Linked DNA regions of Homo sapiens: all the other regions are linked to region 3. The links are contacts of gene promoters, found by promoter capture Hi-C in blood cells and fetal thymus (Javierre and others, 2016). All regions are on one chromosome and are shown on one strand. Each heading gives the region's core, a stretch centred on a gene start or on the middle of the fragment in contact. The rest is flanking DNA. Distances are from core to core; before and after follow the strand shown. Region 1 holds the start of MS4A3 (membrane spanning 4-domains A3). Region 2 holds the start of OOSP2 (oocyte secreted protein 2). Region 3 holds the start of MS4A4E (membrane spanning 4-domains A4E).

Region 1 (4,160 bases), core at 1,095-3,594, 190 kb before region 3:
TTACTGTTCCCCCCTCAGCTTTAATGAGGTACAGTCAGATACATATGTTCTGCAGATCTAATGAACAGCATGATAACTGAAGTTAATACTGTACTATGTACTTGAAGTTTAAGAGAGGAGATCTTAAATGTTCTCACCACCACCACCAAAAAAAAAAAAAGATGATTATGTGATCTGATGTGATCAGTAGATTATCTGCTTTGTGTTAGTGACTTCACAATGCACACATGTGTCAAAACATGTTGTACATGGTAAGTATATTAAATTTTTATTTGTGAATCTTCCTTTGAAAGCAGTTTCTCACAATCATTCTCTAAGGAATTGAAGAAAGAGCTCAATCATTTTTATTATTTACTTTGAACTCATGTGAAGATCTTAGTTATTAAGACCTTTACATGCATTCTGTCATTTATACTTTATACCCCAAAGTGGGCACTATGATCTTCAACTTACAAATGGGAGAACCGAAGTCTTAGAGTTTAAGTAACTTCCTTTCATGGCTTTTTCTACAGCTCCAAATTCAAAAAGAGCATGTTGAAAGCATCCACTCTTTCCTTTCATTTCTTCAGATTTCTTTCTCTTCTTCGCTGAAGGCATTTTCTTGTCATCTCTTTCTTCTTCAGTATTCCATTTGCAATGGTTCTGGATAAAACGGGGAGGGAAGGATCTTATCTTTACCACCTTCCTTTTGGCTATTTCCTTCTGACTTCTGTCTCTGTCTCTGTCTTCTCTTTCATCAGTCCCTTCCTTCGCTCCTAAATGTAGACCCTGGAGAGCCGCTGCCCTAGGGCTCAGGTGCCAGCTCTCTTAGCAGAAGCACCTGTGCAGAAATTTTCTGGCAACTGGGCCCCTGCTCATTTCATATTCACAATCTCTGCCCACACACTATGTTTTGGTCTTGGTAACTGGCCCTCTTTCTCTTTCCTGTGATCACGTCCCCACTGACGCTCCTGTTTGTAGGACTAGGACCTCGCTTTCCTTGCTGTGAACATTCTTCTCTGTCTCACAGACTCCCCTGGGGCATGGATCAGGGGCTGTGCCCTCATTCTTTCTCTCAGGCCTGGCCCTGTGACCTTCATAAGGATTGTGGTTTGAATCTTCACGTTACCTACTTCCTTACTCCTTGTCACTTGGCTCTGATCTTTCTATTGCCTATTTTAGGACATTTATTTAGGATAAGCATATAATTTGGCCACTTTTGAAACTGAAAGGAGGCCGGGCGCGATGGCTCATGCCTGTAATCCCAGCACTTTGGGAGGCTGAGGCAGGTGAATCACCGGAGGTCAGGAGTTCGAGACCAGCATGACCAATACGGTGAAACCCTGTCTCTACTAAAAATACAAAAATTAGCTGGGAGTGGTGGTGCATGCCTGTAGTTGCAGCTATTCAGGAGGCTGGAACAGGAGAATTGCTTGAACCCGGGAGGCGGAGGTTGCAGTAAGCCAAGATTGCACCATTGCATTCCAGCCTGGATGACAGAGTGAGACGCCATCTCAATAAACAAACGAAACAAACAAACAAATACAAAAAACCTAAAAAAACCAAAAAACAAAAAAGAAACTGAAAGGAGGGGTTTTAACAATCATATTAGGATAACAGGCACACTTCGGGCTTCACCATTGTACAAAACAGAGATTTTGCACAGGGCTTTTCCAGTTAAATTTTAGGAAAGCTGGGTAACATTTCTATACCATAGTTTTCTCTACCATAACATCGGGTTAATAGTAGTACCTGGGTCCTGGGTTATTGTGAGGATGAGATGAATTAACATATGTAAAGCATTCAGAACAATGACCTGTATGTAGTAACCATTTAATACATTTAAACAATAATTAGCATTATTATTATATCTGTGATATTGGGCAAAGTAATTAACCTCTCTAAGCATGTAAGAATTGAATGTCATCACGCATATAAGGTACATAGCACCGTTGCTGGCACATCATGTAAAATAAGTGCCTGAGTGACCACCTCCCTCCTCCAGATGCTTCTCTTACAGTGTGACTTTGTCTCTTCTTGCTATGCACCTAACACTGTTCTACCTCCAACCCACAACCTCTTCCCACTTGTCTACCCATATTGTTGCTTGTGTTTCCTGTTCCAGCAATGTGTTAAGCAACATCTGAAAGCCAGAAGACAGTTATCCCTCACACCAGTTTCCTAATCATCACTAAGCCCTGGGGAAACACAATGGATCAGCGAGGCCCCAAATGCAGATGTGATTAGCACACTGGTCAGTCAGCCCGCAAAACACTTTCACCAAGTCCTCTAAAGTGTTGCATAAGGCAAAGATAACGTTAAGTCTGTGGAGGCTTCCGTTATCGGGAAAAGATGCTGTAGTGATCTTTTCTGAGTGTCTCCTACTTGCGACAAGGTGGACTTGGGAGGAAAGCCGTCTGCCAAAGCCTGAAGCCTCCAAGGTATAGATTCCCTCTCCATAGACATTCCCCTTTCTTTTATATCTTTCGTTAAAATGCCTCCCAGTGGACTACTGGGGATGTCTGCAAAGGTCTCTGTTTGGTTGCTATGTAGAGGTTTGGAACATTTAACTGTGAACATGGCTTCTCTTTAGGATGTGATGATTCCTTTGGAGCCATGATAAAAAGTGTTAGACATAATAATACAGCAATTTCTTTGGGAAAATGTGGGTATGGATACACACACATGCACACGCACCTCTTAGGTACATTAAATCCCACTGGCTGCACCTGAGTTTGTCTGCCAGCTCTGATGATGAGGGGTGGTCTCGATATGCCTGAAGTATGGGGTCTGCAAAGTGCATTTTAGCATAGCTCAGGGGACAGTGGAGTGTAATGATAGCTTGAGGTTCTGATTTTTAGCTTCTCAAATTGCTGGCTGTGTGGGCTTGGGAAAGCTACTTAACTTCTTTGTTCCTCAGCTTCTTCATCTGTTAGATGGAAAGGATCATAGCAGTAGTACCCATTCATCTGATGTTGTGAGAACTAAATTAGTAAACATGGATAAAGCCCTTAGAACAAATGCCTGCCACATACTAAGAGCTGGAGAGATGAACTTAACTGGCAGTTTCCTAGAAAATCTACATTTCTCTGATTTTGTGTGTGTGTGTGTGTGTGTGAGAGAGAGACAGAGTCTCGCTCTGTCACCCAGGCTGGAGTGCAATGGCACGATTTCGGCTCACTGCAAACTCCGCCTCATGGGTTCAAACAATTCTCCTGCCTCAGCCTCCTGAGTAGCTGGGATTACAGGCGCGTGCTGTCACAACCAGCTAATTTTATGTGTTTTTAGTAGAAACAGGGTTTCACCATGTTAGCAAGGATGATCTCAATCTCCTGACCTTGAGATCCTCCCGCCTCTGCCTCCCAAAGTGCTGGGATTACAGGCATGAGCCACTGCACCCGGACCATTTCTCTGATTTTTTTAAAAATAAATAACTGATTTAACCAAATTTTAGAAAACATAGTTTGTTTCACCTGGAGGCTGAAAATTCTCCCTGATTATTTTGATTATTTGAAACAAATCAAGTTAAATAATATGGTTAGATATTTGCTCTCTTCAGAAATGCTCTTGGAGTTTCTTGAGATGAGAGGCTCCAGTGCTTGCAGAGGTATTTTCCATCATCATTTATCAGGATGGCTACCTTGGGCTGGACCAAAAGTCTGGTTACTGATTGAACATGTGTGTTAACTGAGTGCTTGCCATCTGATGATTCTGAGCTAGGCACTGGAGTTGCAGTGATGAGTAGACAACGAGGTAACAGACAAGTATCCAGGCAATTAAAGCTCAGGCTGATTAAGTGGTATGAGAAGGAAAGTTGAGGAAATTTTGAGAGCAACCCAAAGGGGTGCATGCTTCTTCCAGAGTTGGCCAGGACTAAAAACAGCATCCTGGAAGTATGACATGTGGGCTGAAAATCAGTCTGGAAGGGCCGGGCGCATTGATTCACGCCTGTAATCCCAGCACTTTGGGAGGCTGAGGTGGGTGGATCACCTAGGTCAAGAGTTCGAGACCAGCCTGGCCAACATGGTAAAACCCCATCTCTACTAAAAGTACAAAAATTAGCTGGGTGTGGTGGTGCACGCCTGTAATCCCAGCTACTTGGGAGGCTGAGGCAGGATCATAGCTTGAGCCCAGGAGGCGGAGGTTGCAGTGAGCTGAGATCGGGCCTCTGCACTCCAGCC
Region 2 (3,637 bases), core at 1,004-3,503, 200 kb before region 3:
TTAGTTGTTTTCTTTGAAGTGACAAGTTTACATCATTCAATTTCAAAAAATGTCGAATACCCACGGGCGAATAATCATTGTTTGTCTGATAGTCATTCTTTAAGTAAAGATGGTGTTCTATGTAACAAGTGGCTAGTTCAGCTCACAGCTCCAATAACTGCACAGATTTTCCTTGAGACACTCTTCATACTTTGATACGCAGCAAAAGTGTATTATGCATACTTTCTATTTTATCACTCTGAATAGTAAAAAGGCATGCATTCAACGGTTGGCATTTAATAAAACAGATACTTTTTACTGCTTCAAGACTTAAGTGAAACTGGCTTTTTCCCTTTACTGTGAGTGCACAGGGGTGAAGAATACAATGGTGACTAACAAACTAACACATTCTTATGCTACTACCTTGATTGGTGCTCAAGAGGCAGGAGCATTTCCCACCACTGTTTTTGCACACCTGTGCAAATGTCGACATTATGAAAAAGAAAATGTGTTATTGTGAAAATAGATCTGATCCCATGGACCCCTCCATCATCTAAGTTCCAATTATTGAGAAGCACTCTAGTAGAAGAATGGCCTTATTTGTTGGATATATACTTCAAAATATTTACAGTCAAGGGAACATCTTACCAGCAACCTGCTCTCAAAAGGTCCAGGAAAAAGAAAGTTTTTTTGTACTATAGTTGCAACATTTCCCTAAGTTATAAATTGTTTTAAAATATTTGTTTTATCTCTGCTTTATCTCCATTTTACATTAAAGTTATATTTAAATTCCATTACTGTTTCACAGTAAAATTCTGTATTAAAATTGGAATTTTTGGAAAATGAACTTTGTTCATTCTGCGGCTTTGAGTAATCCTTGAAACATTGCATAAAGTCCTGTTACTAACTGTGCTTCAAGATACAGGAAATAGTCATATATTAGATATTTTTTGTACGCTATTGACTTGAGCAAGACAGTTTACATTTGCTATGTCTTATTCACAATAAGTTTAGAGAGAATATATCTCCTTTTTACAGCGTATGAACAGCAGCCTTAGCTTGTTTAACTTTCTCAAACTGAAATACAAGAAACTGGCCAATGATTCCTTTTGGAACAATATTAGATGTTTACATAGGCAAGATTTAAAAGCTGCATATGAAGTTAATAAATTTTAGATCCTGAAAATGTTCTTAACATCAGAAAAATGTTTAAAGAAATGAAAGATGAAAAAATAACATGTAGACTTGCCCTTCTCTTTCTCTAATACTCTTTCCCCATTGGTGGTTGGGCGACTGGATTCTCCAGGCTTTCCTGATGCAGAGCACTGTGTGGGTCACAGCTTTGGGGATCTCACTGTCCACAAGAGAATGTAATGTCAGAAATAGAAGTCCTTCTTAAATGCATAGGGAAGCTCTGTGCATGTAGTCATTTGACAGCAGACTGTAACATTGAAAATATAATTCAGATATGACTAAAAGCAATAATAGGCATTTAATTCAGCCTCTTTGAATTTTATTTACTGTTAGCCTTTGATTTTCAATTACCCTTAAAACCACGCAGTCACATTCAGGCCGTGACTAACATTTTAAAAAAATACAATAAAAATCTTTGGCTGGAACTTTTATTCTACTTCAGTATTGAAAAAATCATAAATATAAATTATTATACATATACAGTTATGTGTATATATATGCATATAAAATATTCTCTTGTCTCAGGTTTGAAATGACTAAAGTTACCAACACCTTAATTTAGAAAGAATCAACAGAGAGGGAATTGTCAACTTTCCTAATACCAATAGACTTGACTTTCCTTTGGGTGCCTGTCCCCTCCTAGAGATTTATGTTCCTGGTCAAGTCAGTTTATCATGTCTGCTTTGCTTCTTCCAGCCAAACCCATAGAAATGAAGAAATAATAGTCTTTTGATTTCAAGTATGAAAGATCTAGGCTGTTCTCATATTAGATGGAAACTTAAAACACCTGAACGTTAGCTAGTAAGAACAGTTTCCTGTAATTTAGTATTTACTGGAAGCATTGTGTGCCATGCCATCCTCCTGATGTTTGTAACAGGACTTGTAAAGACTGTTATCAAATAACACTTTTTTCTTGATATGTCTCTTTGAGCTTCAGTGTTTGGATAATCAAGAGAGTCTCAGCCTTTAGGTAGCTGACACTGTGATAAGAGCATCCTGTGAACTACCCAAATAAGGAGGAAAACGAACGCAGCTGAGCATGGGATGCCATATAAAAATCACTTAAACCAGTCGCCACTCCTTGTTTCCTGAGTTGTCCTGTGCTGGAGGTCTGCTCAGACGAAGGTCTCCATGGCGTTAGAAGTCTTGATGCTCCTCGCTGTCTTGATTTGGACCGGTGCTGAGAACCTCCATGGTAAATAACAAGTTTTAGAGAATGCTTCCTCGAAGGAGTTAATCATAATGATCGCTTTCCATGCAGGTGTTTTACTCCCTGAAGAAATCTGATCTTATTCTAACTGGCTAGAAGAAGAAGCGCTTTCAGGCCAAGTAGACTTGTGTCAATATACGGAGGATACATTTTCTCTTTCTGCCTAAATGTCCCAGTTCTCAGGCTTTTATTTCTCTCTCTCTCTGTTTTGGTCTTCTCTCTAACTTGAGACTCATTTTCAGAGGTTCTTCAGGAATAGTCCTTGGCTCTCTTTCAGTCTAACATTTCAAACCCCTGCCAATTACTGGTGCTTGATTGTATCACATTGTAAGATATTCAGTTGCATCTTAGCTGATCTTCCTGCTTCCAGACTCATATTTTTGCTTAATGCTGATATTATTGCTGTTTTGTTCCCTTAAAAAGACTGCTCTGAACTTCACCCATGTTAAACTCATCAACGGTTCTGCAAAGTTAATAGGAGAAAGCTAAGTCAGCGCGTTGCTGTCTACAAGTTGATTCCAATGTATCTTTTCTGTTTTGCCTGGAATCCAAATGCTTGCCAGCTCCAAGGCCTGACTAAATGTAATCTGTAAAGTAGCATTTCAATATTACTTTTTATGTTCTTTATGGTTTCTTTTTGTAGACTTTTTTTGGTAATTTGAAAGGGGGTTTTTCTTTGAAACTGATACGTCAATTTCTTACCCATTTGGCCTGTAATACCTTTGGAAGCAAAGATCACATATAGCTCCTGATATTTTTCCATTTTACCTAAGATGAATTTTAAGAATGCCTAGATCAGTGAAGCTCACCAGGTAACAGTTAACAGTTAATTATTGAAATGAACAGCACATGGAGAGAAAGAGCCACTGTGAATTCTGGCTATTTAGGGTGGGTAGGGTGTTTAGGCCCTAACTGTCTTTCAGGAAGCCTGAGCAAAGGAAGATTCTGCTGCAGTGAAAGTATCTATGTGTGTTTCTCAGGCTTTTCTCAGCTATTTGATAGAACGTCAGACTAAAACTGAGTTTCTGGCTGGGCACGGTGGCTGATACCTGTAATCCCAGCACTTTGGGAAGCCGAGACGGGTGGATCACCAGAGGTCAGGAGGAGTTCGAGACCAGCTTGGCCAACATGGTGAAACCTCGTCTCTACTAAAAATACAAAAAGTAGCCTTGTGTAGTGGTGGGCGCCTGTAATCCCAGCTACACGGGAGGCTCAGGCAGGAGAATCACTTGAACCCGGGAGGCGGAGCTTGCA
Region 3 (3,759 bases), core at 705-3,204:
CTGGCTAATTTTTTTGTATTTTTAGTAGAGAAGGGATTTCACCGTGTTAGCCAGGATGGTCTCGATCCTCTGACCTCGTGATCCACCCACCTGGGCCTCCCAAAGTGCTGGAATTACAGGCGTGAGCCACCGCACCCGGCCTATTCTTTAATGTAAGGGAAACTCGGCCTCAATCTCTCACGCACACCTTCAGACTGAGAATTTAGGACATGTTGGGTCTGTCTTATCAAACACACTTGGTAGTTCTCCCTCTGTGTTTAGTGCCTCTCGGGTAAGGCTGTAAGCTTCCTGAGGGCCGAGCCATTATATCAAATTAAGGCTTATAATTGACTCTTATGATTTTCCATAATTCTTTGGTAACATAGGTCAGGTTCTGGTCATTCAAGGCTGGTGCTCTGTCTTTATAAGACATTCTTGACATAAATTTATATAACTGCCTCCTATCTTTACACCACAGAAATCCATGTGTTAATTATCTAGGGTAGATAAGGTCCCCAAGGAAAGAAAGCGTGTGTTTACAAGACTCCACTTCTCTACAATCAAAATATATATTTTTTAACTGCAGAGAATATTGGATACATATGAGGGAGGGACATTTCTTTCAGGTTGGAGAAGAATCTAAACCTTGGTTTTGCCACATCACCTATATGCATCAGGTTCTTGACAACTACAATGTCTTCCCCGCCCCTCCTCCCCACCCCGGATAAAGAGGTGGGGTAACCTAGACCACCCTTCCCTCTTCTATTGGCCCCAGTCTCCTTGTGGATCAGCAGCACCAGCAGTCTCTTGTTTCCTCATTTTTATGTCACCATCCCCCTTATGGGTCACAACACAAGAGAGCATGAGGAGAGTGGTATACACGGTCATCCCCTTTTTCTTGGCAGAGTTATCAAATAGACTAGAAACCCAAAATGAGGCCTGAATCTGGATGGTTTTTAGGAGGATGATGGGGATGCAGAAATGGTGGCATGGGAAGGGAAAAGGGGGAAAGGCCTGGGCTAGGAACCAAGAATTCTGGGTTTTTTGCTCCTAGCCCTTTTGTTAACTTGTGTGATTCTAGGTACATTATTTCCCTTTTCTGGATTTCATTTACTTCATCTGGGGAAAGATTACAATGACTACGACTACTTACAAGCTTCTTTCTTATCCTAAGAATGCTAAAAGTCTACAAGATGTTTTTCATTTGCAGATTTTATCATGAGCAGCCTCAGTTTACTGCCTGGGTGCCACATGAATAGTGCCAAAGACCACTGGAGAACTACGTCAGGCCACAGCCCATCTAAATGTACAAGGCTGGGGACCCTGCCTGTGCCCTACTCCATGTACACCAAATTCTGCACGTGCTAGATCTTTTCTTAAGTCTTGAATTATAAAAATAACCAGTCAGAGACAAAGAATAAAGACCATGGAAGAAGTGCATTAACAGTAGATGAGGTAATTAATCAAAGTTTAAAATGTTGCTTACAGTGTTTTGGTATCCTGAGAACTTACGGAACAAAAGTAACTAAAACAACTTCATCCAGCCTCCAGTGTCAGCCTTTAGGAGGCTTTTCTAACTCCCATCAACTGTAGCGAAGACTGTTCCTCAACCACCCACAACCCTCACCAAATGCATATTTAAATGTGCACTCAATCCACCCCAACCCTGACTACCAGCTTGGGTCATGGGAAGTGACCTCATTTTTTTTTCTCACTCCACTCCCAGAAATCCTAAACCCAGGAAATGAAACAAACTATCAGTCCGAGAGCCTAGGAAGGCAAGTCCCTGGACCTACCTTTCTTCAGGCCTGCAATGTCTGCTGCAGGTCTGATGAGTGCAGGGCTCTGGGCAAGTTCCTCAAAGTTCTTTGTTCCAGACACAGTCAGCTTCCCCCACTCCACACCTCACTCAGTTTAAATCTGCACTCCTTTTCTAGTAGATGTTTGGAACCTTAAAGGATGTGTTGAGAACTTCTGAGACACACAACTAGTTCCTCTTTTTTATCGGAAGCATTAACTGATTTTGCGTTCCCAATATGGGTGTGGACGTTTATTTTGAAATTTGCTGAAAAAGCAGTGGCTGCCTGATACAGTCTTTCCTATGAAAATAATAGTGCTAATTACTGTGGGTATCAGTGGTGGAGGATTTTCTGTTTGCCAGACTCTGCTCAAAGATTGTTATATACACAACTAAGTAAATGGTAATTTATAAATGCCCCCTTTCACAATTTCACACATTTCCACAGTACTCTTCTTCCCAGAGAACTACTGTTACTATTGTATTAGGTTGGTGAAAAAGTAATTGTGCCTTAATATACACAACTTAAATATCTTATTTTCATGATATTTCACCTTTGGAGGTTCAACATGAATAGCCACAAAATGGGAACAAGTTGGTTGTACAGCAATAATTAATACAACACCTTTCTAAGTCAAAGAAGCAGCTGGTATCATAGAACAAGCTGGTCTTTGACTAAGACAAACCCAATGGCAATCATTTCTTGTATGACCTTGTTAATCCCCTGAACCTGATTCATTGGTAAAATAAAATAATGCCTTCTTTACATGGAGGAAAGCAAAGTGGCATGCAATTTTCATTCACTCAGCATTTTCTTAGAGAAAAGCTACTATAAGCCAAGCAGTGTGCCATGTGCTTCAGATAAAATGGTGAAAAATGATTTTCGCTCAAGGATTTTATAGGCTACTTGACAATATAGACAAGTAAATAAATCACCCATTATAATCAGTTACCTGCAAGGTAAAGTGGCAATGCTGATGAATAAATAAATCATTACAACCCATTATAATCAGTGATCTGCAAGGTAAAATTGGATATCCTGAGAGAGCTCATAGGAGGATCAAAGAACTCAACGTTGGGTAGGTAGGCAGAGGAGACTTCCTAGATAAAGGGACATCTAATTGGAGACCTGATGAATAAGCAAAAGACACACAAATGGAAGAAGGATGGAGCTAGGTAACATTATTATTCCCATTTTCCAGAAGATGGAACTGAAACTCAGAGATATTCATATAGCTGGTATAGATGAGATTGAAATCCAGTTTTGCCTAATCCCAAAAACTTTGTTGTCTATAATCTGAAATTATTTTAATTCTCAGAATTAAATGGGTTATATTTCAGAAATATTGTCCTGGTTTTCATGTAAAGCAACAATAGGAATAAATAATACTGAAATCAGGGAGTTAGGGTTAAGAAAGAGGCAGTTCTCTAGGGAAGGGATGATGGTTACTGAACTACCTATGATGCTAGTGAAGTTGGAGAGAATGAATGGATTTGAAAGATGTTTAGGAACGAGAAATGACAGTACTTGTTGATATAATGGATGTGTAAATCAGGAGAGAAAACAGGAAAGGATGGCGCTCAGATTCTGGGTTAGGAAACTGAATGAATGATAGAGCCATTCAGTAAGGCAATAGACATGGACCAAGACAGAACTGCAGGAACAAAGAGTAAGACTTGGAGCATATTTAATTTGAATTGTGTGGGCACCTTCAAATAAGGTTCACAAAAGTTGGATAACTGGCAGGAGCTAGGGAATGAGAACATGGCTGTAGAGGTAAACCCAACAGCTCTTCACCCAGAGGGATGAGGTTACCCAGGCTTGTGGGAGGAGGCAGAAAAAATCAGACCCTTTTTGCTAGAGAATAGAAACAGTATTATCAGAAATAAGGGTTTCCAGAGGATGGCAAAAAGAGATTAAAGAAGATAACAGGCAAACTAGGAAAATGTGGCATTACAGAAGACAAAGGTACAGAGTTTCA

The links. The method cuts DNA at HindIII sites, captures the fragments that hold promoters and counts their contacts. A CHiCAGO score of 5 or more calls a contact.
Region 1: a contact is called between the fragment with the promoter of MS4A3 here and the fragment with the promoter of MS4A4E in region 3, in 2 of 17 cell types (neutrophils and total B cells). The highest score is 8.0, in neutrophils.
Region 2: a contact is called between the fragment with the promoter of OOSP2 here and the fragment with the promoter of MS4A4E in region 3, in 3 of 17 cell types (erythroblasts, naive CD8 T cells and fetal thymus). The highest score is 9.0, in erythroblasts.

Annotation. Positions count from the first base shown.
Region 1 is chr11:60,054,321-60,058,480 of GRCh38, forward strand. It overlaps MS4A3 (membrane spanning 4-domains A3), which reads left to right and starts at 2,345. Exons shown (of 7, transcript NM_006138.5): 1 at 2,345-2,420. The HindIII fragment of the contact is 11,991 bases long and covers 1-4,160 here.
Region 2 is chr11:60,038,156-60,041,792 of GRCh38, forward strand. OOSP2 (oocyte secreted protein 2) reads left to right here and starts at 2,254. Exons shown (of 4, transcript NM_173801.5): 1 at 2,254-2,368. The coding sequence starts at 2,305. The HindIII fragment of the contact is 6,208 bases long and covers 1-3,637 here.
Region 3 is chr11:60,241,183-60,244,941 of GRCh38, forward strand. It overlaps MS4A4E (membrane spanning 4-domains A4E), which reads right to left and starts at 1,955. Exons shown (of 9, transcript NM_001393391.1): 1 at 1,776-1,955. The HindIII fragment of the contact is 3,157 bases long and covers 1,134-3,759 here.